Linked DNA regions of Homo sapiens: all the other regions are linked to region 1. The links are contacts of gene promoters, found by promoter capture Hi-C in blood cells and fetal thymus (Javierre and others, 2016). All regions are on one chromosome and are shown on one strand. The core of a region is centred on a gene start or on the middle of the fragment in contact, and the rest is flanking DNA. Distances in the headings are between cores, read along the strand shown. Region 1 holds the start of DESI2 (desumoylating isopeptidase 2). Region 2 holds the start of TFB2M (transcription factor B2, mitochondrial). Region 3 overlaps CEP170 (centrosomal protein 170). Region 4 overlaps SDCCAG8 (SHH signaling and ciliogenesis regulator SDCCAG8). Region 5 overlaps SMYD3 (SET and MYND domain containing 3).

Region 1 (5,399 bases), core at 1,097-3,596:
TGACATAAAACACTCAAAGCCCTCAAAAGAACATATAAGACCAAGTTTATTAAAAGTCTAATAATTCAACTATTTATCATTCCGATAAACATTCATATGCTTCATCTCCTGTTCACAGGCAAAAGCAATATAAAGACATAAGTGCAGGAATTAGTAGAGAAGATAGTGAATCAGATTTTGGTCTACAAATTCTAGATTGTATTTTTAGTTGTTTAGGCAGATCACTTACTCTCTCCCCTGTCTGCTGCTTCTCTAACTACCTATTTTACAAACTTGATGTGAAGAATAAGATCTCGCTCATTAGTCAATATTTTAACATCGTTCAGAACAGTCCTCCCTTCGAAAATACTGAATACCATCTCTAGCTTTTCCCAATCGACCACAATTTGCAGATTTTCCTGTATCACAGAATGCCTCAAGTGTAAAGAAGCCCACTATATGCCAAAACATGCATTTTCGTTTTCATATAAAAGGTAAAACTCTCTTCCTCTATTCTCACAAATTCTTTTAGGCTCTGAAACCATGGCTTCTGGCCACTGTATACTCCTAATTTAAATACGGGTTTGTTTAATAATCTAGGAGAAAAGGCACACTGTGATCTCAAGAGCAGAATATATTCTGAAAGACAGTAATAGCCCTCATGAATAAAAAACAAACCAAATTCAGATTAGGGGGATGTGCACAGAGAAAGTAAAAGGGCAGTTAAGAGTCTTGAAAGATAAAGGTGTTCAGCTGAACACAAAAAGTTTAAATCCAGAGAATTATTTCTCAACCAGTGACACAGGCCACAGAACTTACAAAGTGCCATGGTTTTCTAGGATCTTTTGTTTGGCTTATTCTCCTCTTCAACTTTTTCTGTCCTGTTCCACTTTTCTCAGCATGTTAACTCATCTCCTTTCATCTCCAGGCTCACATCAGAATTCAACAGAGGACTCATCTCAAGTGGCAGGCAGTTCCTACACCCTTCTGACACAATTCCCAGATATGGCATGAGAAATCCCACTCTACCCAAGATATAATAACACTGTAAATTTAGAAACTTATAAATAATACAAGGGAATACAAAGTTTAGAACTGTATAAGACTCTTGGCCTGTAGTATTTCTGCTCTCCTGCATCTTTAAGCCAACAAAAATAACGACGGGCAATTTTTCATTTGTCAGTCAACTTACAAGGAATTTTAAGCACTGCAGTCAGAGGTACTAATCCAGTCTACAGAACAAAAACCCATTCTACAGAACAAAGCAAGCAAACACACCCAAACATGCATCTAACTGCAACGACAATTCTCTACCGGGTGCTTTTTTCTGGGGGCATTTCACTGCAAAAATCAGGCAAACCAGTTCTTGGACTCGATTCTGCGTGCTTGCCATACTCCAAAGTTAGATGATACAATAAACAACTTCTTCCCTTCCCTCTCCCGTGGTCACGTCACCTGTTGCATCACCTGGAAAGTGGTCTTCAGAGTGTAGGAAAGGAGCACCACCAGGATCTCTAAATAATTCAGCTGGGCTATTTTCTTGAGAAATGTTAGCCTCATTCATATTTTAACGAGGTTGCCTTTAACACACAAGGAAAGGGTGTGTTGGCTCCTGTTCACCTTTGAAGAGATTCTAGCACAGGCACCCGAAAGCTGTGACCTTCTGGACTTAGAGGGGCTTGGGAGTTTCTGAAGACGTAGCCATGGAGAGAGACGGACAGTTCGGCAGAAGCAGAGGAGCTGGGAGCGCAGGCGGTCGGGACGGGGGTCCCGGGGCAGCCCCGGGGGCCGGCAAGTGGGGTTGGAAACGCAACGGAAGCTTTGCCGAAAGGACACTGCACGTCGGCCAAGGGGTCGGGCCCAGAGCCGGGGTCGGGTCCAAGCTGAGCGGATGGGAGAGGTTCAAGCCCACCCGAGCTTTGGCCAAAACCCTCGGGCTGACTGGGTTCACCGGAGCGTCGACGAGTGCGAGGATTAAAAAATAACAATACTCCCTCCTTCACCCCCGGCTTCCCCCGAGAACTAGGCTGGAGGCGGAGACGCCAGGCAGGAAGCGCCTGGGGCCGGGGTCCGAGCCCCACGGGCGAGAGGAAGCCGGCCTGGGCCAGGGCTCGGGGCCGCCAGGGGCCGCACTCACCATGTCGTACACGTTGAGCACCACTAACTGGTTAGCCCCCATCCTCCTCCCCGCGGCCGCCGCCTCGTCCTCAAGCCGCTCCGTCTCCGCGGGGCCGGAGGCCGCTCTCACCCCCGCGGGCGCTTCAGGGGGCCTGAGCCGGGCACTAAGCGTACAGCCCGGCCCGCGGCAGCCGGGGCGGAAGCATCGGGCAGCCGAGCCGCTCCCGGGCGCCGCCGACAGGAGCGTCTGTGCGGACGGGGCCGGACCGTTGGCGGCCCGCTCCGGATGAGGCACCTCCCCTAGGCGGCAGACACGTGGGGAAAGGCGGGGCTTGAGCAAGGGGCGGGCGCCAGGCGCCCCGGGGGCGGGGCCGGCCCGGCGCCAGGACTGAGCCCGCCTGCGCTCTGGTTCTCGGCCGGCGCACCTCGGGACCTAAAATGGCGGCAACTCCGGCGCCTCCGCGTCCTGGAGGAACGGGGACCCAGGAAGACTACAGTTCCCAGCATGCAGTGAGGATTCCCCCTTGCTACTATAAGTGCAGAGGCGGAGTCTCAACAGCCCTTCGACTACAACTCCCTGCATGCCGCGGGGGCCCCGGTCCTACCAGACCAGGCCTCCCCGGGAGACTACAACTCCCAGCATGCAGTGCTTTAGAGCTGCGGCAGATCCCTTGCCGCCCGCGGGCGGTGAAATCTCCTACCTTCATTCACCCTCTCATCTCAGGTGCTGCTGCTGTTAGTAGTTCATGTTGCGTTGAGCTCGATGAAGCCAGCGAAATGTGGCAAAAGACCAGAGTGATGACCCTAAGTTTTCCAAATGCTTCCTCACCTTTTATTTGGCAAGGGGAGTGGTGGGGAAATAGAGGAAGACGAGTTACTGGTGTGGGATGAGGTGTAACGTGCATCCAATTAATCCTCAATGTGGAATTTACATTTTGTGAAACTATCCTGCTGAGATGGGAAGGGTACAGTAACCGTAGCTTAGCACAATCCTGGGACGTAGTATGCAGCTCTGCATTAATTCAACAAATGTTTGTTATGTGCTTCCTATGTGCCAGGCAGTGTTGTAGGCCCTCGGGAATGCCGTGATAAACAGGAACAGGGACATACAAAATATCACTGGTATGTGCTTTGCAGAAAATTTAAGTAAGGTGAAGTCATTCTTAAATTGGCTGCACGGGGAAGATCGCTGTAATGAGTTTTAAGCTGAAATGTGAATGACAAAGCCAGCCCCGCAGATATGAGGGGGAGGAGTATTTCAGTCAAAGGGAACAAATGCAAAGATCTGAAGCATGAAGGAGTTTTCTGTATTCAAGGAAACAAAAGATCACTCTTGCTGGGACACAGTAGGCAAGGAGTCGACGGTACTAGATGAGCTGGGCAGGTAGGCAGAGGCCAGATCCCGGAAGGATTTTAAAATTCATAACAGGGGTTGTATTTTAAACGAAGCCATAAGTTTGGACCAGGGAGTGAAATGAGTGTGCGTGTGTTTAAAAATGATTACTTGGGTTGCTGTGTGGAAAATGGATTTCAGAGAGGCAAAGGAGGTGGAAATAGGGAGATGAGTGTGGCAGATTGTGAAAATAGCCACAAATTATTTCCAGTCTCCCAAATTATACTCTTTGGTGGTGTCTACCCCCACTGACTGCACTGGACTGTGACTTGCTGTGGACGTGGGACATTAACATCGTGCAAGCAGAGGCTTAAAAAACACTTGTGAGTTGGGGCTTGCCCTCTTGCTGAACTTGGGAGTCCTGTGACCACCATTTTAGGAATGAGTGTGGGCTAGCCTGATGGATGATGAGGGACACGTGGTCAAGTCACGGCCCACATCCAGCTGACAACCAACCAACTGCGAACATGTGAAGCTCTCCCGGACTATCCTTCCCTGGCCACAACCACATGGATCGGACGAACTGACCAGCCAACCCACAGAATGTGAGAAATAATGTTTTAAGTCACAAAGTTTTGGGGGTGGTTATGTGGCAAAAGTTAATCAAGTCCACCAATTGGATGCTGTTCCAGAAGTGCATGCCAGCAAGTGGCTTCGTTGTGGCTGATAGTGGTGGAGACCGAAATAATTAGAGTTTAAATATTTTGGAGTAAAGTCTGTGGAACTTGCTAATGGGTTAGATGTTGAGTTGGTTAGGGAGAGAGGATTCGAGAATAACTTCTAGATTTTTGACTTGGGGAACTGAGTGGATAGTCCTGGCACTTCTAAGATGTGAAACATTTTGGGGAGGAGCAGGCTGGGGGTAGGGAAATCAAGAGCTATGGTTTGGTCATGCTAAGTTTGAGATGCCTTTTAGACATCCATGACTGCCAAGTAGTAGACATTTGAATAAACTGGAGTCATGGCCATTTATAGACTTGGGGCTTGGTTGGATGACCTAGGAATATGTGTAGCTAAAAAGAAGTGGGCCAAGAACAAAGCTCTAGGACCCTTCACCATGTAGAGGTCAAGTAAAGTATGAAGAGGAAGCACGGAGGCAGGAGGAAAATCAGAAAGAACATGATAACATTGATGTCAAGACTATTGGATTCAGCAATATAGAAATCACTGGTAGCTTTGATGTGAGCGGTCTCTGGGAGGAGTGAGATTTAAATAACTGCTTTAACAGTTTGAGAAGCAAATGTAAGGTGACAAAAGGGAGACAACTTAACTTGGGGGCAACAGCTGGATAAGGCGGTGTGGTCAATGGAGGGCATTTTGAAGATGGGAGATGCTGAGGCATACTTGCATGTAAAGGGAGAAAAATTGATATAGGAGAGGGAAAGATTTGCAAGGGCAAAGAAGGGAGAGGGATCCAGGACACAAGTTAATGGTTGCTGTTTAGTAGGGGGGATGCTTCATCTGTAGTGATGGCATAGAAGGCAGATGCAGGTGCACAGTTACGGCATAGAAGGCACGGAGACGGGTAGGCAGGTTAGAAATACGGGAGTGTAGGAAATGAGGGTGTTTATTCCTGATTTACTTTTACTTTCTCAGTGAATTATGAGGCAAGAATGTCTTCAAAGAGTAAGACGTGAGGAGAGGGGCATAGGGAGTTTGGAGAGACAGAAGGTGATGTAAAATAGAGGAAATAAGTAAACTTGGAAAATATGGTTTGTCAGGTAGTGTTGGGGGACAGTAAATGCTGTGCACATCATTACTTGACTGTCCTCTGGAAGGTTGTTGACAAAGTTCTAAAACCTGTTTTTGGTGCATCAGCTGCCTTGCTTCTCTTTCCTCCCATGGTGTTCCTCCCCACCTTAAGCAATTACAAACTACGTAATCACATCTGCTAAGCCCTTTTTCCTGT
Region 2 (5,399 bases), core at 1,288-3,787, 1.9 Mb before region 1:
CAAGACCACCCTGGCCAACATGGCGAAACTCCGTCTCTACTAAAAATACAAAAATTAGCTGGACATAGTAGCAGGAGCCTGTAATCCCAGCTACTCGGGAGGCTGAAGCAGGAGAAACTGCTTGAACCCGAAAAGCGGAGGTTGCAGTGAACCGAGATGGCACCAGCCTAGGCGACAGAGTAGACTCCATCTCAAAATTACTTCAAAAAGGCAAAAACAGCATAGGATAGAAAACCACACTTCTTAAGAAAAAAGATGGGAAATACTGCACACTAATCAAGTTTTTCTAATAAAGTATGTCTAAATCCTGATCATAAAGTTCATCTTTAAGGTGAAATCAACATTCTCAGCACCTGGGACCTCAGAAAAAAAATAAGATGTACAAAAATCTCTTATTATTCAAGTACCTTCAATTACAAACAAGTGAACCATCAACACTGTAAAAAGGGAATATTATAATGTAATTCTCTTTCCCAAAACCAAGAGAAAATAATAACACTCAAAAGCAAAATAAAAAATGACATCAGTTTTTCTAGGACTCAGTAGGCTAACTTTGGTCCACAAACATTATGAAATAAGACAGTGCATTTTAAAATAACTGTTTTGTTTTTAACCACAATGTGTTTATTTTTCTTTTTCTCTTTTTCTTTCTTTCTTTTTTTTTAAGGAGACAGAGTCTATGTTGCCCAGTCTGGCTTCGAACTCCCGGCAGCAAGTGATCCTCCCACCTTGGCCTCCCAAAGTGCTGGGATTACAGGCATGAACTACCATACCCAGCCACCACAGTGTTTTTTTTAAAAAGTCAGAAATTCAACGACACATTTCTATGAGTGAACCATGAAGACATAATTCTATTTTATCTGATTTAAAAATATTTAGGACTCCAGGTCCTGGAGGGGGAAAAAAGTGTATTTCTGAATCTATGAAAATGTTTTTTAAGGGGAGAGGGGGAGGCAGCTCAGTAATGGAGAGAGGTTCAGAGGATGCAAAGTCACCTCTAGAAAATTGTCAGTGAGAAAACTGTACGAAAAAAGAATTTAAGCAAATTAAGACCAATGAGTGAGTCCCCACAGTTTGCACAACAGTTGATGAGATATTTTCTATGATGTCCTAACAAATTTATAATACACAAAAGGTCATATTTAGTTGTCAATTCTTTATCCGCTTGAGCTTCATCAGATGAGTATAATCTTCAGACTATTTGCTGGGTGATACATTCCTTAGGAACCTTTTCCTCGTGCATTTAAATGCCAAACTCAATTACACTCTCAGTAGAGTAAGCAGAAAGGATTGTACGTATTCTAAGACACGGAGTTGATTGGCTGCCGTTTCTTGCCTTGGTGGTAAGGATAATGGGTAAAAGCTCTAAGTTTGATCCTGAAACACGGAAAACACTCTCAAAGAACCGTGTCTTCTAACATTGCCCAATAGGTAAAAAAAAAAAGACTGCCAAAATTTCCATTACAGCATCCTATTTTTAGTCTTCAAAATTGGGTCTTTTAAATCGCATTCCACAGTACGATGTGTTTGACTAAGTTTACATAAGGAATACAGTAAGCATCCTAAAGTCTTAATCTTTTTAAGCTTAGAAAGGAATTGTAAGCTTTTACATCTTCATTTTTAATCTTAACTTTAAGTCTTTTAAACACACAAACTGAAAAAATTAAGGAAAATATTGGCCCAGAGAGAGGAATGGAAGGGAGACACCACGCGGTTCTTGACAACCAAAGTGGTAGTGATGGGGGGGACCAGGTGTGGGGGGGAAATGAAAACCATCCACGAGGGTGGGGAGAGCGGGCTGTGGGCCACACAACAGAAAGGAACGGAGACCGTGGAAGCCGCAGGCTCCTCCAGGAGCCGGGTGAGGAACGACTTCTGGCGCTAGTCCCCTAGGGAGGGAGAAATTGGCGCGACGCGCAGCAATAGGAGACCCACAGTAGCTGAGAAAGGAGAGGAAAACAGGCGACCTGAGAGGCGGAGGAGGTAAGGGGACCGGGCTACACCTCACCCGGAGGGCAGAGGCTGCGCGGCTGGAGGAGGACAGCGCAGGGGGAGGAGCGAGAGGCTTCCGAAAGGCTTTCCATCCCGGCCGCGAGCCGGCGGGTCCCCTGCATCCCGCTCCTCCTCTCCTCACCTGGGAATCGGAGGCGCAAGGAGGGCTACCGCTGGGCGCCGGGTCTGTTTCCAGCCCCACTCGGCGACATGGCGGCCGACGTGCTGTCACGGAGCTTGCTCGGGTCTCCCCTGGCTCCGGTGGAGGAGACACCTCTCGCCTTTCCGCCCCGCCTCCCTCTGCGCACCCCTCGCGGCTGGCCGGCTGGAGGCTGGCGGCCCGCGACCGCGGAGCATAGAGCACTGGCGGCTAGAGAGGAAGCGCAGAGCGCGGACAACCATAGAGTACGAGTCCGGACACCAGCCGGATGGTCGGTCGCTCTCCTCAACGGTCCACTCACAATCCTCGGGCGGCTGAGCCGAGGCGGAAGCGGAAGTGAGGGAGAAAAGCAGGAAGGCTCCGCTGTTCGCATGCGCAGGCTCTAGTGTTTACTTCCGCTTGACCTGGCCCGGACGCCAGAAAATGTTCCACGTGGGATACCCTGCGTGGGGTTCACTGTAGTAGCTGCACTAGGTGATTCTTGGAGCGGGCCTGAGAGACAAGGACATGTGGATCCCAGTGGTCGGGCTTCCTCGGCGGCTGAGGCTCTCCGCCTTGGCGGGCGCTGGTCGCTTTTGCATTTTAGGGTCTGAAGCGGCGACGCGAAAGCATTTGCCGGCGAGGAACCACTGTGGGCTCTCTGACTCCTCTCCGCAGCTGTGGCCCGAACCGGATTTCAGGAATCCGCCAAGGAAGGCGTCTAAGGCCAGCTTAGACTTTAAGCGTTACGTAACCGATCGGAGATTGGCTGAGACCCTGGCGCAAATCTATTTGGGAAAACCAAGTAGACCTCCACACCTACTGCTGGAGTGCAATCCAGGTGAGTCCAGCTGAATTGCATTTTCTTGGATGTTCATCATTTATTCAAACGTATTGACCCTCCTCGGGGTGCTATTTTAGATACTGGGGGGTCTTTTTTGTTGTTCTTTTGCTTTGAGACGGAGTCTCGCTGTGTTGCCAGGCTGGAGTGCAGTGGGGCGATCTCGGCTCCCTGCAACCTCCGCGTACCGGGTTCAGGCGATTCTCCTGCCTCAGCCTCCCGAGTAGCAAGAACTACAGGCGCGCGCCACCACGCCCAGCTAATTTTCTTATTTTTACTAGAGACGGGATTTCGCCGTGTTGGCCAGGATGGTCTCGATCTCTTGACCTCGTGATCCTCCCCCCTAGGTCTCCCAAAATGCTGGGATTAGAGGCGTGAGCCACTGCGCCCGTCCAGATACGGGTCTTTGTTTGAAGCTCCTTAGTTGGAGAGATTGCCCACTACATAAGCGTAGAGTCTGTATCGTTAATGACACCACAAAGTATTTCTGTAGCAGCTTGCACTTTACACAATATTTTGATAAAACATGCTCTTAGATCTTATCTCCCCAAAAGAGTTGCAAGCCTCTGCCAGCTGAAAAAATGATGTTATCTTATTCTTCCGTGCATTCCCTATAGACCATAGCAGGATGCTAAGAACACAAGATTTATAGGCTTTTTGAATGATAGTTTTTTAAAGCACCATTTCATATCACAGGGAGTCAGTTCTGTTTAGGCTTGACAATCTCTTTGATGGTTAAAGCATCCGTGTAGTCCGTGAGGAAGTGATAGGCTAGAGGCAATCTATTTTGCTGTGACTTTTTTCTTCTAAGAGGTAGTGAATCATGGTGATGAAGAGTGCAAGTTTTGACCTGGTGCGGTGGCTCACGCCTGTAATCCAGCACTTTCAGAGGCCGAGGCGAGTGGTTCCCTTGAGGTCAGGAGTTCCAGACCAGCCTGGCCAACATGGTGAAACTCCGTCTCTGCTTAAAATACAAAAATTAGCCGGGCGTGGTGGCGGGCGCCTGTAATCCCAGCTACTCGGGAGGCTGAGGCAGGAGAATCGCTTGAACCCAAGAGGCAGAGGTTGCAGTGAGCCGAGATTGCCCCACTGCACTCCAGCCTGGGTGACAGAGTGAGACTTCGTCTCAAAAAAAAAAAAAAAAGAGTGCAGGTTTTGCAGTCGCTGACAATGATTTCAAAGCCAAGCTGCATCACTTTTGACGCTGGAGTCAAATAAGTATATATAATCTCCTGTTTCCTTATATGTAAAAAGGAGAGTGACATCTACTTTGCGGATGCTGTCAGATTTAAAAACCAGGTAATAACGTGTGAAACATCTAATGAAAGTTTGGTATTGAAAGAGATTATGTTTCTTGTACAAATAAACTTTTCGTTCTGTTAATGTGCCAGGTCCTGGAATCCTGACTCAGGCATTACTTGAAGCTGGTGCCAAAGTGGTTGCGCTCGAAAGTGACAAAACTTTTATTCCACATTTGGAGGTATATTTTTAGTTTCTCAACGTATGTTATTGTTTGTTCAACTATCTGTGAGTGGTTTAAGGAAATGGAATTAAGCACACAGTGTTTTACATAGAATATCTTTTAGGGAGCCATCTCTGAAATATCTTGTTTATTCCCAAAGACTAGAACACAGTTAATATTCAGTGCTGTTGAATGGCTGAAACATGAGGAGTTCTAAGACTTGTTTGCTAGTTCTAGGTCGGCTACAGCCTAGTTGGGTGACTTTGAACAAAGCGTATAACTGGCATCCCTAGGCTTGTTTCCCCATTTCTACTAAGCTGCGCTGTGCTCCTTTCTTCTGTGAGCTTGGAATCTAATTGGAATAAGTGCTAATATTAGGTTAATGGATCTGTGTAACCTCTATATTTAGGGTTTGAAAGGCAAGAAAGGTTGGCATACAAATTAAGTATTTTATCTGAAATGCTTGGGAACACAACTGTTTTGGATTTCAAATTTTTTCATATTTTGCAATATTTGCATATACATAATGAGATATCTTGGGGATGGGACCCGAGTCTAAAAATTCCTTTTTTGTTCCATATACATCTTATTCATAAGGCCTAAAGGCAATTCTGTATAATATTTTAAATAATTTTGTGCATTAAACAAAATTTGTGTACATTGGACCATCAGAAAGCAAAGGTGTCACTATGTCACCCACCCATGTGAACAATCTCCTTGTTTGACATCGTCATCATCCCTGACTTTTTTTTTTTTTTTAAGATGGAGTTTCTCTCTTGTCACCCAGGCTGGAGTGCAATGGTGCGATCTCGGCTCACTGTAACCACTGCCTCCCAAGTTTAAGCGATTCTCCTGCCTCAGCCTCCCAAGTAGCTGGGATTACAGGCGCCCGCCACTATGCCCAGCTGACTTTTGTATTTTTAGTAGTGACGGGGTTTCACCATGTTGGCCAGGCTGGTCTTGAA
Region 3 (5,399 bases), core at 1,931-4,430, 1.4 Mb after region 1:
CCTCTGCCCTTCAAATATAACAAGATGAGGGTAGGAATAGTTCATCAAAGAATGCTGTTTTGACAACCATTTGCTTTCATCTACTTCTCAGATGTCTGTTTTTACCACTAGGATTTCTAATGTTTGACTTTCCTTTCTCTCTTGTTCTTGGGCCCAATTTGTAGTCTCCTCCTCCAGTCTGCATTCTAAATCAGTACATTGTGCTTTTCCTGTGCTCTAATATGTTTTCTATTTCTTTCTTTTTGATCTTCCTAGTCAACTTCATAGCCCACTCCCCCTACCCTCCTGTATTGTCACCCCATGCAATCCAAGCTGAAGGAGTCTATTTGAGAGATTAGAAAATGTATACTTTTTTTTTTTTTTTAATGAGAGGGAGTCTCACTATGTTGTCCAGGCTGGAGTGCAGTGGTGAGATCTCGGCTCTCTGCAACCTCTGCCTCCCGGGTTCAAGGGATTCTCCTGCTTCAGCCACCCGATTAGCTGGGATTACAGGCGCCTGCCACCACGCCCAGCTAATTTTTGTATTTTTAGTAGAGATGGGGTTTTGCCATGCTGGCCAGGCTAGTCTCAAACTCCTGACCACAAGTGATCCACCCGCCTCGGCCTCCCAAAGTGCTGGGATTACAGACGCGAGCCACCACTCCCGGCCTACATTTTCTTGATATAGTTAAGATAATCTCTTTATAGCTCTCATCATATCATCACCTTCTTTTATATTTTAAAATACCTTTATAGAAGGTGAAGCATTCTTATCATGTTTTAATTCACAAAGCAGTCATTTTAGTTATAATGACATTTTGGTAAAGAAAGGGATGTCGTTAACATTGTTTTATAAGGCGATTAAATTGCTAGTGTCTGGTTTTTCTGTTTTGCACATTCTAGTTTTGTAGTCTTAATGTGGAGCACACCTGTAGTTTGCAACACTTGGTCTGAACCGAATCTGTGATTCAAAATATTCGTATTCCTTAGTACTTCTAAGTAATTCTTGCAAAAAGTTGTGTTTCATTAACTTTTCATTTTTATGTTCGGAGGCACCCTCCTACACAAAATGAAATTTGCCTTCTACAATTCTCTGTTCATTTAGATATTATTAAAACTTTGAACTTTGTTTTCATAGTGTGAAAATGGAATATTAAGCACTTTGTTGTTTGAATTCGTGCTTCTGGCTGGGCACGGTGGCTTACACCTGTAATCCTAGCACTTTGGAAGGACGAAGCGGGAGGATCATCTGAGGTTAAGAGTTCAAGACCAGCCTGGCCAACATGGTGAAACCTCATCTCTACTAAAAATACAAAAATTAGCCAAGCATGGTGGCAGGCACCTGTAATCCCAGCTACTTGGGAGGCTGAGGCAGGAGAATCACTTGAACCCAGTAGGCAGAGGTAGCAGTGAGCTGAGATCGTGCCATTGCACTCCAGTCTGGGCAACAGAGCAAAAACTCTGTCTCAAAAATAAATGAATAAATAAGTGCATCTTAATCTGTGCACAGTGAAATCTGCAGAATTTCAAAAAAAAAAAAAAAATACAGATACCCATACCTTACCAGTTACATTATAAGTTCAAGTCTTCAGGTATGAAGCCTAGACATATTGATAAATACATACACACATAGAAGTGTTCCTGTGTGTAAAAATCTCCGCAAGTGATTCCAGGTCTAAGAGCCATTAGCTTAAGGTGATCTCCTTAACTAAGGGTTGTCTTCTAGGGAAATAAGGTGGAACGTCTAACCGTGATGGTGAACGGCTTCACTTTCAAAGTGAGGAGATGAATCTTGGAACGGATCATATGGATTGCTTATTGCAATTCTAGTCTGATTTATTTTGTATTAAATGGATTGTATTCTTTTTTTTGAGACAGAGTTTCTTGTTGCCCAGGCTGGAGTGCAATGGCGTGATCTCAGCTCACTGCAACCTCCACCTCCCAGGTTCAAGCAATTCTCCTACCTCAGCCTCCTGAGTAGCTGGGATTACAGGCATGTGCCACCATGCCCAGTTAATTTCGTATTTGTAGTAGAAACAGGGTTTCACCATGTTGGCCAGACTGGTCTCAAACTTCTGACTTCAGGTGATCCACCCTCCTCAGCCTCCCGAAGTGCTGGGATTACAGCCCGGCCAGATTGTATTCATATTACCAAGTAATCAGAAAATTCCCAGTGAATTTTATGTCAGATTTCTAGTATGGCTATTGGCCTATTGATAAAACTTCACCAGAAAAGTTTATATTGTGCCACTATTACCTATTAATATTTGCTGAACATTTACTAAAGTTTCAGGCATCCATACAAGGTACAAGAGATACCAGGATTACTAAGTAATAGCCACTTTACTCAAGCAACTCAGTTTATAAGGGAAAATAGACAAAAATGAATATATTTTGTACAAAGAAGTTTAGGAGTTGCTGTAGGTATATGTGAAGGGCAAGATAGGTGGTCAGAATTGAGAGGCTGGGAATTCTATGGGTGTTTTTCTGGGGGAAGTGATTGCTGGAGAAAGCTCACTATGAAAGGTCTTGGGACAGCATAGAGCTTTCATTTTCAAATTCAGTTGGACATGGAATACAAGGGAGGAGCAGAGTAACATGGGGAGATAACAGGGCTTTTTACTCAAAACTGAAGAGTTTGAATTCTATCTTGAACTCTATAGGGAGCTATTGAAAATTAGGGAGTGAAATTATTACATTTACTTTTATAAATGTAATTTTGATAGCTGGATAGAGGAAGGATTTGGAGAGTGGGAGGCTAGAGACAAGGGATTCAGGTAAAAGAGTTCTGCAGTAATTTATTGGTAAGAACCAGTGGGATAAGAGGAAAGGCACAAAGAAAGATATTTAGGATGTGGAATCAAAGGGACATAATGACTTACCTAACTAAAGCGGGAGTGGGAGAGAAAATATCTGGTCAGTTGGTGATGCCATTCGCTAAGACGGGGAGAACAGGAAAAAAGGCACATTTCGTTAGATGAAAGGGTTCTTTCTGTTTTTTAAAAATTAAATCTGAGGAGTCCAGGAGGACCTTGAACTGGAAATGACTCGTAAGCAGAGGGAAGGTCTGATCTTGTAAAAAAGGTTTTGACTTGAAATTATATGTGTAACATTATAATAAGCAATATTGGAAGCCCAGGGTTTTCAAAGAAGTCCCAAAGAGATTATGTATAGGGAAGTAACCCCGTAAAAACAGAATTTAAAGAAAAAGTAGACACTTTCAAAGAGATTGAGGCGTGCCCACAGAAGTGAGAGGAAAGCAGACTGATACTTGTAGAAGGCAAGAATGGTCAAAGATATTGAGAGGTAATTTAAGATAGCAATACTAGAGATCATTAGATTTAACAGGAGGACATTTTCAACCATGAACCGTTAGCACCATAGTTCAAATTCCAAAAATTACTTTGACTTTGGAAATTCAAATTTACTACTAATATGTGGACTGAGTTCTGTTATAAAATTACTTTCTGATTAGATGATTTGATTTTTTCTTTAATACATGTATATATACCATACACTCTAGTACATTTGCTAAAAGAAAATTCAAATATAATGAGGAAAATTATACTTTTAAAAAATGATCTACCATTAGGTTTTGGGTTACTTCCACTTGTTGGCTATTAATACCAATAATCTTTTATCTGTGTTAGCTTCTGTTTACCCTCAAAATTGCAGAAGCTCTTCTCTAAATGAAATATATCACTATTCTTTTTTTTTTTTCCAGGGCAGTTCACTGTGTTGCCCCAGCTAGAGTGCAATGGCACAGTCTTGGCTCACTGCATCCTTGACCTCCTGGGCCCAAGCGATCTTCCTATCTCAGCCTCCCTTGTAGCTGGGACCACAGGTGCACGTCACCACACCTGGCAATTTATTTATTTTTTTTATTTTTTTGTAGAGACAGGGTGTCACTTTGTTGCCTAGGTTGGTCCTGAATTCCTCGGCTCAAGTGATCGTCCCACCTCGGCCTCCCAGTGTTCAGTGTTCTTTAGGCTGGCTGTGCCTAGCGATTCCCTCCCTTAAGAGAATTCTTGTATTTCACCTTCTCAGAAATAATCAAACTACAGAACAATTCCATTGAACTGTTACATACCTCATGGCATTCTGGTAAAGATAAACCTAATCACTTTAAACATCCATAGCCTAAGAATTACAGTATATGAAAGAACAGTCTTGCCAATACAATGAATATTTAAAAATTTTAGACAAAAGATAGACCCGATTGTTTATATAATTTACTACTTTGTATGAAAGTCATAATGATGCTGTCTTTTTTAAGATGGAGTCTCGTTCTGTTGCCCAGGCTGGAGTGCAGTGGTGTGATCTTGGCCCACTGCGACCTCCACCTGCCAGGCTCAAGCAATTCTCCTGCCTCACCACCCCCAGTAGCTAGGATTACAGGCACCCGCCACAAGGCCCAGCTAATTTTTTATATTTTTAGTAGAGACGGGGGTTTCACCATATTGGCCAGGTTGGTCTCGAACTCCTGACCTCAGGGTGATCCACCCTCCTCGGCCTCCCAAAGTGCTGGGATTACAGGCGTGAGCCACCATGCCTGGCCTATAGTGATACTATCTCAATTAAATTAAAATACAAAGCACTTTATTTTCTTTTGATTAGATTAAAATTTTCTTTTCCAGCATGCATTATTTTATCAGCTATTCTGCATGTTTATATACTATAAGTATGAGGTATTTAACGAAAGCGATCCTTAAGGTAAATAATAGTGTCATTTGTTAGTTTGAGAGCTGAACTAGCTAGAGTGCCACTAGCCATATATGAATATGTAAATTTAAATGAATTAAAATTAAATGAAATTTAAAATTCATCTTTTTAGTTGTATTAGCTGTATTTCAAGTGCTCAATAGTTAACACATGGCTTGTGGCTAATGTATTGGACAGGAATATTTCCATCATCACAGTCTGTTGCACAGTGCTGGTATAGAGATATTTATAAAAATTATAATTTAACATGAAGATAAAAAGAAAAACTGCATAATTTAGGCTAGTAATTAGCAACTTACTGTTATACAGTAAAGTGTGTTAGTGATATATTCACTAAATACATTCTTGCTTAAAATAGACTCTGAGACGTTTCAGTTTTCTACACTTTGAAGTTTCAATTCACTTTTCATATGTTATACTGATAATGCAATGGAAATGATTTGTACCCACCTCCCAAATAGTTAATGTATAGTGAATCAGAAAAGGTATTGAAGATGAACAGAAACCATTTTTAAAGGGCACAAGAATTAGTGATATGCTAAAATTAATTGCAGACACATGGCAGAGAAATTGTTGTCCTGCGTGAGCTAAGAACAGTGAATCAAAGCATTTGACTTTCAGGATCGTAACAGACCCTTAACCCAGACTGCTTTCCTCCCATTGTCACTCCCTCCTGTAGACAGTTTCAGGTCTTCCAG
Region 4 (5,399 bases), core at 2,510-5,009, 1.4 Mb after region 1:
ATGTTAATAACAAGGGAAACTATTAGGTGAGGGATGTCACTGAAAGGAGGATACAGGACTCTATGTGTTTGCCATTCAACCTTTCTATAAACCTAAAACTGATCTAAAAAATAAAGTCCATTAACTAAATAAACAAAATCTTTCTAAACCACTTAAACATTATTTTAATTCTATTCTTCTCTTACTAAAATGTATCAAATTTACACTCTGTCTGACAGTCAAGGCTTCCGTAATCTTCCATTTTACCAGTTCAGGATTACTTTCATTATTTCTATGAGACATTCTCCACTGCAGGAAGATAAAGTAGATGGCTTATGGCCCCCACAAACCATATTCATCCTGAATACTGTGTTTCACTGTTGCCATTCTCTTTATGAAACTCATCTCCCTTCTGCTGATCTAAATGATCCTATTCCTTTAAGACTGGTTTAGGCCGGGCATCGTGGCTCATACCGGTAATTCCAGCACTTTGGGAGACCAAGGCGGACGGATCACGAGGTCAAGAGATCGAGACCATGCTGGCCAACATGGTGAAACCCCGTCTCTACAAAAAATACAAAAATTAGCTGGGCGTGGTGGCGCAGGCCTGTAATCCCAGCTACTGGGGAGGCTGAGGCAGGAGAATAGCTTGAACCAGGGAGTCGGAGGTTGCAGTGAGCGGAGACTGTGACACCGCACTCCAGTCTGGCGACAATGCGAGACTCCATCAAAAAAAAAAAAAAAAAAAAAAAAAAAACATTGGTTCAAGATCTCTCTCTCCCATAGAAACATTCCCAAAGACAGTAGCTTTTCCTAACCTTCTTCTCTTATTATAATTATAGCTTATACCAAAAAGTAAAGGCCTATACTATGTTCTCTAATGTGCTCCTTATGGTGTTAATAGGGAATAGTTCTGTCTTCTCAACTAGATAGTAAATTTATTCTGCTTTATATCTTTCAAGTTTTATCCACAACATCTTAGGGATTAATAGAGTATTGTTAATGAAATAGTTCCTAGGATATTATTTCAGCTTTACTGGTAATCCAGGACCACGTGTATATTAATAACTGTGTCCTCCAAGAACAAACAGGAAATTACATGTTAAGATCAGAAACTCCCCGGTAAAATCAGGACAGTGAAACATCTAAAGCCTCCTTAAGTTACATACTGGCCTTGCATCTTAAAATGTCAACAATATAATACATAATATCATATACTATATATAAAAACATGATACAAGAGATATCAGTGATTCCTATAAAAATATCATACAATCGAATACACTGATACTAGAAAGAAAGAAAGAGGGAGGGAAAGAAAGAAAGAGAGAAAGAAACAGAAAAAAAAAAGTAAAACACGACATACTTCGGGAAGATGAAAAGGCTCTATTAGCATTAATGACATTAGCAAACTGCACGCAGTTGAGCATATAACCTTCTAGTGTCATAAGCTATATATGATGTGTTTGGTTTCTTGATCATTACTGTCAGTACCCTATGAACCATTCTCATTCAAAGTCAAAGTAAGAGCCTTAATACTGACAGCGGAGAAGAATTGGTCTACCAGTTTAGAATCCCTGATTGCTGTACCACTGCTCCAGTAGGTTGACAAGTATGGGAGAATGATTGGTATTTGTATTCCAAAGCATTTGCCATTTGCTGGGCTACAGCAAGCGGGGTGAGAAGGAAAACTTCTGAAATATGAAAGCATATTATGAAATCATTAGACATAGTAATGAACTACTGGGAAATCAAGCAATCAGAAATGGTATGGTCAAGAGCATCATTCCCAAGTCTGACAAGCTCTTGTGACACATCAGTCTCTCAATCACGTAAGAATAGCAATTGTCAATGTATTGCTACAAACATGAAGATTTATAGCAGCAAATTTTAATACAATCTATAGTTAATATAAGCTTTCATTTATTTAGTTTTAAATTCTTAATGAGAAACTTACCTTGCAGAACTTAACTTCTGCCTCTAAATGATGAATATATTGAGACTGGTCATTAATAGTATGAACAAGGTCGTGCATAGTAGGCATATTGGTTTCCTCATGTTCTAATGACCTCTATGACAAAAAATAAATAAATAAATACATAAATACATAAATTTTAAAAAGCCAAATTAAGCATGTTTGGATTTAGCAAAGAATCAGTTGTTACCTTCTCCATACTCAATTTTGCACTGATGTGATATAAACATAGAATCGATCACAATGTAGCTTATAGTCTTGATATAGTTTGGATGCTTGTCCCCCACAAACCTCAAGTTGAAATGTGGCCCCCAGCATTGGAGGTGGGGCCTGGTGGGAGGTGTTTCGGTCATGATGAATGAATCTTGGTGCTATCCTCATGATAATGAGTTCTTGCTCTGAGTTTTGGTGAGATTTGGTTGTTTAAAAGAATGTGACACCTCTCCCACTTCTTGCTCTGGCTCTCACCACATGAAATGCCTGCTCCCCTTTCACCTTCCACCATGACTGAAAGTTTCCTGAGGCCCTCACCAGAGTGAGATGCCAGTATCACACTTCCTATACAGCCTGCAGAACCATGAGCTGATTAAACCTCTTTTTTAAATAAATTACCCAGCCTCAGGTATTTATTTTTAGCAACACGAGAATGGACTAATACAAATACTTGCTTCTCTATCCTATAAATTCCACAAATACACAAGATTCATGGATGTGAATATCATTTTTTTTAAAGATGGATGGTGAAAGTGGTTATAAAAAGCACATATAGTGAATGGAAAAATGCTGGGGTAGCAGTAGTATAACTGGCTTGGAATAAACTATTTTAACAAATTGGAAAAACAACATTCCATTCAGTAATGCTGAGATACAAGGGACAACTCTCTCCAAGAAACTGCCATGGAAGAGGATTTGCTAGCTAAAACTGCAGCAGCTCCGTGAAGGAGAGATTCTTTAGGAAGCGTTTGATGCCAAGCCAGTGTCAATGCGATGAAATTCCATCTCAAAAAAGATACATTAGCAAAATGTAGTTTTTGATTTTTGGCTCTAGTATTGAAGGCAATTCAAGTGTATGGTGTTCTGGAGCATAGAACCTCCAAGAGTAGAACCCTAAAGTAGAGACACACTGCATTGAGGGGTCCAACGAAGAGATTTCAAAAAAACGCTAATGCTATTTTAGCTCTGTAGCATTCCTGGAACTGACTGTTAATGTATAGCTTACCTTATCCTAAAATAGTTTGTAAAATCATATACCCATCACATAATTTTTTTTTTAAAGGATGAGGAAATCAGGAAAAGGTAAAACAAGGGTCAACCAGTTAAACAAAGCCAGAGGAAAGCTTGAAATGAGGCACAGTGTCTGTTTCTCAGCCACTCTCTTTCTCAGCACAGCAGACATTTTAAATGATAATCAAGTACCAGCTATCATGGCAGAATAAAATAAAATAGAGCTTTGGTTTTTTGGTATATTTAAGAAATTTAAAAACCAAAGTAACTCTAATTAAATGAATTATCTGTCCTGAGTAGAAATCAAACAATTATAATCATCCTCCATTAATAGCAATAGGTTCAGAAGATAGGCAAATATAAATTACTACTATGAGTATACAGGAGGAAGTCAATGTGAAAAATAAAAAGCTCAAGCCAATATTGTATGAAAAATGTTCACATGAAATCATTTGTGTCTACTTTGAAGGGCTTTAGTTTAGATATCTACATTTTAAGACAATAAGTAATAACTTTTTTTCCATCTCAACAGTGCCTCAGTTTTACTCTCAATATATGCATGTATTTCTAATATGTTATACTGGCTATGAAAGTGCATTCTAAAGGTATAATCTTAAAAAGCTAATTATTACTATTATGGTTTATAATTATTACATGTAGGCTGTATACATATAGAGTCTAAGTTCCATTCTTTTACATAGCTCCATATAAATAGACTTGTGTATTTTAAAGTGCACTCTGTATGTACTAAACTGATTCTCTTAGTGAAGGTCTTCCTGCCTGTCTGGATTCAGTAAGCTCCATAATATCACTGCTCAGACTTTAAAAGGCAAATAAGCATGTCTGAGCATTCAACAGATAAAGCAACTTCATCTAGTAGATTTAAAAGCATTCCACCAGTCTGTGCTTAAGAGCAAGCTAGAAACCAGATGTCAATAGTAATAAATTCATTAAATGATGAGATGTTTTACTAAAATTATAAAATCTGTATCTATAAATTTAGAATATGCATATGAAGTACATTTCTCTAAAGTAGGAATTAAGCTTAAAAGTATGTGTCAGCCTGGAATGGAGTGTTCGTATGGGAGTGATACTCTGATATTTCAGTGGTGAAGAAAAGAAAGTGACATGTCTCCACACTTTTCAGCATACAGGCATTGTATTGAACTAGAAAACACATTGAAAATGTGAGGTGGTTACTTGCTGCTATGCATGTTATGTTTATGTAACACTTCATAGGTTTCTAAAGAATTTTAAGTATGTAATCTTATCTCATTATTCCAAAAACTCTGTGAGACAGGCACAATATCTTAGAGAGTATGTGATAGACCCTAGATAGAACTAAGCCCTTGACTATTATTTTGTCCACTTAAATCTGGTCCAGAGTGCTTTCACTCACATCTATCTCAGCCTTTAGCATATAAAATGCTTTAATCAGAAATAATACACTCTGTCAAAGCAATAACAAACAACTTCAGAAGAAATACAGCACCACTTCTTATATATCATACTATTTTATAACCATATATTTTAACATATAGAACATTACATATTAAAACGTATTATTTTGAGGCCAGGCGCGGTGGCTCACACCTATAATCCCGGTGCTTTGGGAGGCCGAGGCTGATGGATTTCCTGAGGTTCAGAGTTCGAGACCAGCCTAGCCAATATGGTGAAACCCCATCTCTACTAAAAATACAAAAAATTAGCCTGGTGTGGTAGTGCACATCTGTAAACCCAAATACTAGGGAGGCTGAGGCAGGAGAATCGCTTGAACCAGGGAGGCAGAGGTTGTAGTGAGGCGAGATCATGCCACTGCACTCTAGCCTGAGCAACAGAATGAGACTCTGTCTCAAAAAAATTAATTAATTAATTAAAAATAAAATGTATTATTTTGACACTCAAAATTTAAAAAATATTACAAAGTAGGGCTACAATTATAATTAAGTAACTTCTAAAAATGATCAATAATAGATATGACCCTCTAAAAAAGAAATTACTAAAATAATGACTTTATCTTTTACATATATTCTGACATATAATTTATTATATTAATTTATTATATATTATATATTTATATTACATATTTTGCTAACAGTTGCAAAATAAATTCTCCAAACTATTCCCTTGCTCCCATTTTCCAAGTGAATAATAAATTTAAAAAATCAAGATTCCCTCTGCCATGGAAATCTATTTTTTCAGCCAAAATAATCAGAGGGAA
Region 5 (5,399 bases), core at 1,991-4,490, 1.3 Mb before region 1:
GCCTACACTCTGCTTCATGTATGGCCTGCAGAGCCGTGAGCCAAATAAATCTCTTTTCTTTGAAAATTAGCCAGCATTGGTTACGTCTTTATAGCAAATGCAAAGTGGACTAACTCAGAATGGAATTGTTCTCCTGTAGTCCTGTGAGTGGGTCTCAGTCTTCTAGTGAGCCCATGACCCTGGACTGTGAGCTTCACTCAGTGCTTCTCAGTTTGTTTGTTTGTTTTCTTGTGGGACAGGATGACTAGAGTGGACTGGAGTTGGGTATTTTCCTTCCCCAGGTAGGTTAGGCTCTGCCAAAGCCCCAGCAAGTTAGGGTCTGGTTAGTTTCTCTGGAGGGCAAAACCTTGTTAAGAACATAATTCTCTGGTGTTTTTTTCTTTTTCTTTTTTCCTTTTCCTATGGTGCTGATCTCTGGTGTTTTTTCAAAATGGTCCTTTTCCTCCTTTTTCCACTGGAAGCATAAGGGAATTTTTCTCTGATACTCACTGCGAGGCCCTGCTAGAGCTCCTGGAAAAAAAAAAACTCACAAAAGCTTATCCCTCCCTACTCCCCATGATGGGCACCTCTGGAGTTTTAAACTCGAAGAGTTGTTCATTCTAGACCCCCAGCAGTATGTCGAGTACAATTGAGGTTTCTACCGGGTACTGATTTCCATGGAGGTTTCTGTTGTAGTAAGTTGCAATGCTCTGTATGCGCCCCTCTGTCTCTCTAGTCTTGGGGGCAGCAGCTTGCCCTGTGACCTTATTTCTTTGGCAGATCTAAGAATTTTTTTTTAACACTGTATATTGAGAAATTATAGTTGTGTATATTTATAAGATGCAAAGTGGTATTGTGAGTTTTTAATACAATGTGGAATAATTAAATTAAGCTAATATATCTAGCATCTCAAATGTGTAAGAAGAATGGTTGATTTTTTAGTTTGTTTAGCTTTTTACTTGTTGTTAGGATGGAATGGTGACTTCTAAGCTTCTTACATACCAGATCAGAAGCCAGAAGTCTCATCCTGTTTTTAAAAACAGGACTTTGAACATTTTTATTTTTCTTAGTGTGCTAAGAAAATAATGCCAGCGGCAGTAACTGCACGGCAATCCAGTGGTCTCTAGTCTTATAAGAGCTTATAAAGAAAGGCTTCGTGTCTTACCTGATAAACTCCCCTTGACTGTTTTACAGTTAAGTGAAACCCCAATTTCTGGCAAGATCTGAAACTTGGTTTTTCTTTTTTGTTGCCTGTTTAAAATATCAGAAGTAAGCCCGTGAAAGCTATTAACATGTATTCAGGCCGACTTTGGTTTCTCCTCTATGGATGTTTCTAGAAACATAGTGAAACAACACAGCAATGATTGGTTTTGCGGTTGTTGAGGTCAAACCTTGGCACAAGATTTTTGGTCTCTGTTTTCTCTTTATTGTTCGACGCAACCCACATGCAGGTTTGTTTCTCCATCTCTTCACCTCATCTGGCTGACATGTTGATAGGAGCTTAGCCAGGCTGTCTGGCCACGAAACCTAAAATCATATGGCTTGTTTAGTTGGTAAGGACATGGAGGAATAAAATAACCATGTGGACGGCACTGTGCAAGGTCTTCAATGACAGAGGCGTTGAACTTCAGGCAGAGTTTAGCGATCATCTCAACCGTGTCCTTGTTTCACAATTCTGGGATCAACATCCGCAAAACTACACTTCTGACAACATCAGGATCCTCTAATATTTCATGTATACTCATCTTGCAAGATAGGTTGTAAAATAAGATGAGGAACCTGAAACAATGAGCAGTTAAGCCACTTGCGTCAAGTCCCAAGGGTGGCAGGAAAAACAGAGCAAGGAGTGAGATTGATTACTTGCAGCCTTTGGATTTCACCATGAAGTTGGTGGTTTTTAAATGGTTTTTTCTCCCCTAACATCGACCTTTCTCCAGTCAAATGGTGGGAAACCTCACATGTAAAACAGATGAAATACAGCTGCTGGCTCACGTGGGAGGCTGTGTCATGTGGTATGATGTTTAGAAGGAGGGTCTTGGAAGCCAGGCTGCTCTGAGCCTCAGTTTGCCCATCTGCAAAGTGAGGATAACTACTATACGTGCCTCACAGGGTTACCGTGGAAATCAGCGAAATCAGTTCCCAGCTGTAATAACCGTGCAGTTTATTCAGTCAAAAAACTTTTATCCGGCAGCTTACTGTATTCTGGGCCCTGTTAAAAGGACGAGGTGATGGCTGTGAGGAAACAGGAATCCCGGCTTTCATGGAGCCTACATTCTCAGTCTCAAAATACATGTTAATTATAGTAACATGTGTCGAAGGGGCATCAGACCCCTCCTATTGATACCTCCTCTGTGTGTCTGGCTCTAAAGGTTCCTTAGAGCACTGTGTGAAAACCACTGTCCTAGGCTACACATCTTAACATCTAGGATGTTTTTAAGAGCTGGAGTGGGGAAAAAAAATGGAATTATATGACAGTGTTTAAATTTTCCATTACTGACATAAACTATTCCAGAAACAACAGGTAGAAGAGAAGGATGATTTAGGCCTCCAGTTTGGAGAGTAATTAGTGACTTGTCTGCTTTTCCTTCCTTAGTCATCTTGAGCACTTGCAGCTGTGCATCTTCCTTTGTGCCTGATGCAAGCTGATATTTTAGGGTGAAAGGGTGAGAAGGAAATTTAGATTCAAAGTGCTGACAAGATAAAGTACATTCTGTAAAGATTCATTCCCCTTAAAATTGGAGTTCTTACCGAGATATCTTCACTTAGCAGACTGATGTCAGGAAAGTAAAAAATGGAAGGGAACTTTGTGGTTGAAAATTATGTTCCTAGAAATGAGGGTTGACCCTGTTTCTATGAGAAGAGAGAGCATGTGCGGCTCTGCTGATGGGTACAGAGAAGTGCCTTTGTGGTAGCGCCCAAGGGAGAATGCAGAGTAGACCACCATCTCTACTCTGATTGTTTTCAATTCTTTCTCAGATGCCTACAAACATTTAAACCTTGTCTGACTCTGCCTTCCCTTGGTAGTTTTAAGGCATATGGAAGAATTTCAACAAACTGAATTGATTTGGGGGAGAAGGAGGTTAGATTTTTTTTTAAATGTTGCCATTTTAAGGAGCTAGATAATATACAAGAGACCTTTGGCCTTCGGCCTTCCTGTGGAATAGGTCCCGAGGGAGTTATGAACTTCCAAATGTGAAAATGCCTATGTAATTATTTTTCTCTCTGTGAAAAATGCAAAGTATATCTGAAAAAGTTAAGTAATTCCTCTAGATGTGTAACGATTCTATAAATTCAGGATTAAAGTAATTTATAAGGCTAATTTATGCCATTTATTTATTTATTTATTTATTTAGAGACAGAGTCTGGTTTCTGTCACCCAGGCTGGAGTGCAGTGGCATGGTCTCAGCTCACTGCAACCTCCACCTCCCAGGCTCAAGTGATCCTCCCACCTCAGCCTCCTCAGTAGCTGGGACTATAGGCACACACTACCACACCTGACTAATTTTTGTGTCTTTTTTTCGTAGAGATGGGGGTTTTCCCATGTTACCCAGGCTGGCCTCGGCCTTCTAAGTGCTGGGATTACAGGTGTGAGCCACTGTGCCCAGCCCTATGCCCATTCTTTAGTGCTGGTAATAGAAATGAACCAATCTATCAGTTGGTTTTCATGTCGGGGTCATTTTCAGGCAGAAAAATAGATTGTTGTCCCTTGACCTAAATTGTCTGCTTTCATAACAGAAAGCCAATGATAACAAAGCCATGTGAATCAGTCTTTTCCTGTGGAGTCAACCTTACAACAAGGAGGATTCAAACATCTTCAGTGAAGTAGCAAATGATTACATATCACAGATCTTTGCATCAAGCAAGGTCAAGTATGCACGTGTTAACTCAGTGAATTCTAAGTATCTGATTAAATTTTGTAAGTCAATGCCAATTTCCCTTTGGACTCAGAGTTTACCTGCATAATTTTGTTTTATTAATATTTTAAAATAAAAAGATATGTGGCCGAGCACATGTGGCTCACACCTGTAATCCCAGCACTTTGGGAGGCTGAGGCTGGTGGATCATTTGAGTCACGAGTTTGAGAGCAGCTTGGGCAACATGATGAAACCTTGTCTCTACAGAAAATGGAAAAAGTTAGCCGGGCATGGTGGCACACACCTGCAGTCTCAGCTACTCAGGAGGCTGAGGTAGGAAAATCACTTGAGCCTGGGAGGTCCAGGCCACAGTGAGCTGTGACGGCACTACCATACTACAGCCTGGGCAACAGAGCAAGACCCTGTCTCAAAAATGAAAAAAGAAAAGTGATGTTGTCCAGTGAACTAAAAAAACAGAGATTTTACTCATTTTGTTCTGTGAATGTTATGCTTTATTTAGAGAAATGAGCCATCAAACAGGGAAGACAGCACTGGTATAAGATGAGCTGGCAGAGACCTTCAGGTGGTCACAAGAGAACACAGTGAGCAATGGGAAAATAAGGCAATTCTCTTAGCACTGGAAGGCGTTTAACAGACCATCTAGTTGGTCAGCTCCCCCTAGCTTACCTTTCACCCTTTGTTTTATAAATAGGGAAACTGAGATGAAATCACCCAAGACTTTTGGGACTGTCTACCAAAAATCACACAACCAAGTCAGAGCCAGAACCCAGGTTTTCTAACTATGATAGTTGTGTTACTGTTGTGCCATCCTGTCTTCTGAGATGTTGGCCCATCTTCATCAGAAAACTTTGATCTGGAGCTGTCGGGAGCCGTAGAATAACAGAGCAAGCATGGATGTCTTGGCTTGCCTAACACTGCTCCTCACTTAGTGTAAAGAGCTCTTGGCCGGGCATGGTGGCTCATGCCTGTAATCCCAGCCCTTTGGGAGGCTGAGGCAGGTCAATCACTTAAGGCCAGGAGTTTGAGACCAACCTGGCCAGAGTTTGTTTGTTTGTTTTTTGTTTGTTTGTTTGTTTGTTTTTTGAGAAACTCCATCTCTCCTTAAAAAAACAAAAACAAAACCCAAAAAATTAGCTGGACATGGTGGCACACGCCTATAATCCCAACTACTTGGGAGGCTGAGACGTGAAAATCGCTTGAACCTGGGAGGCGGAGGTTGAAGTGAGCTGAGATCATGCCACCAAACTCCAGCCTGGGAGACGGAATGAAACTCTGTTTCAAAAAAACCAAACAACAACAAAAAAGAGTTCTTAATGCTCCTGAAAGTTATTATCTAGCCTCTGCTTAAATACTGGTTCATGAGATAGCCCACTCCCCCAGGGTGGTGATCCCAGATATACTACCCTTTGATTTCTGTCCCAGTTCTTCTATTTGGGGTCTGGAGCACCTATGATGTGTCAGTCACTGTACTATATGAAAGAGATACAAAGTAGGATAAAATGTAGCTTCTTCTTTCTAGGAATAACCCTAGTAGTAAAAGAAACA

The links. The method cuts DNA at HindIII sites, captures the fragments that hold promoters and counts their contacts. A CHiCAGO score of 5 or more calls a contact.
Region 2: a contact is called between the fragment with the promoter of TFB2M here and the fragment with the promoter of DESI2 in region 1, in 3 of 17 cell types (total CD8 T cells, non-activated CD4 T cells and fetal thymus). The highest score is 7.5, in total CD8 T cells.
Region 3: a fragment that was not itself captured here is called in contact with the fragment with the promoter of DESI2 in region 1 in 1 of 17 cell types (neutrophils); the score reaches 6.9 in neutrophils.
Region 4: a contact is called between a fragment that was not itself captured here and the fragment with the promoter of DESI2 in region 1, in 1 of 17 cell types (neutrophils). The highest score is 5.2, in neutrophils.
Region 5: a fragment that was not itself captured here is called in contact with the fragment with the promoter of DESI2 in region 1 in 1 of 17 cell types (non-activated CD4 T cells); the score reaches 5.0 in non-activated CD4 T cells.

Annotation. Positions count from the first base shown.
Region 1 is chr1:244,650,073-244,655,471 of GRCh38, reverse strand. DESI2 (desumoylating isopeptidase 2) reads right to left here and starts at 2,346. Exons shown (of 5, transcript NM_016076.5): 1 at 2,117-2,346. The coding sequence starts at 2,158. RefSeq lists a silencer at 1,833-2,602 and enhancers at 2,683-2,842, 3,102-3,675. The HindIII fragment of the contact is 4,542 bases long and covers 1,801-5,399 here.
Region 2 is chr1:246,563,399-246,568,797 of GRCh38, reverse strand. TFB2M (transcription factor B2, mitochondrial) reads left to right here and starts at 2,537. Exons shown (of 8, transcript NM_022366.3): 1 at 2,537-2,972; 2 at 4,364-4,452. The coding sequence starts at 2,660. CNST (consortin, connexin sorting protein) reads right to left here and starts at 2,342. Exons shown (of 11, transcript NM_152609.3): 1 at 2,135-2,342. RefSeq lists enhancers at 1,738-2,237, 2,278-2,337, 2,568-2,847. The HindIII fragment of the contact is 6,532 bases long and covers 1,606-5,399 here.
Region 3 is chr1:243,236,758-243,242,156 of GRCh38, reverse strand. All of the region lies in intron 1 of CEP170 (centrosomal protein 170), which reads left to right. Among named protein-coding and RNA genes, the nearest start is that of CEP170, 16 kb to the left of the region's middle. The HindIII fragment of the contact is 8,921 bases long and covers 1-5,399 here.
Region 4 is chr1:243,271,194-243,276,592 of GRCh38, reverse strand. SDCCAG8 (SHH signaling and ciliogenesis regulator SDCCAG8) reads right to left here. Exons shown (of 18, transcript NM_006642.5): 4 at 1,937-2,050. Among named protein-coding and RNA genes, the nearest start is that of SDCCAG8, 18 kb to the right of the region's middle. The HindIII fragment of the contact is 931 bases long and covers 3,294-4,224 here.
Region 5 is chr1:245,958,660-245,964,058 of GRCh38, reverse strand. The region is part of intron 5 of SMYD3 (SET and MYND domain containing 3); the gene reads left to right. Among named protein-coding and RNA genes, the nearest start is that of SMYD3-AS1, 150 kb to the left of the region's middle. The HindIII fragment of the contact is 4,538 bases long and covers 972-5,399 here.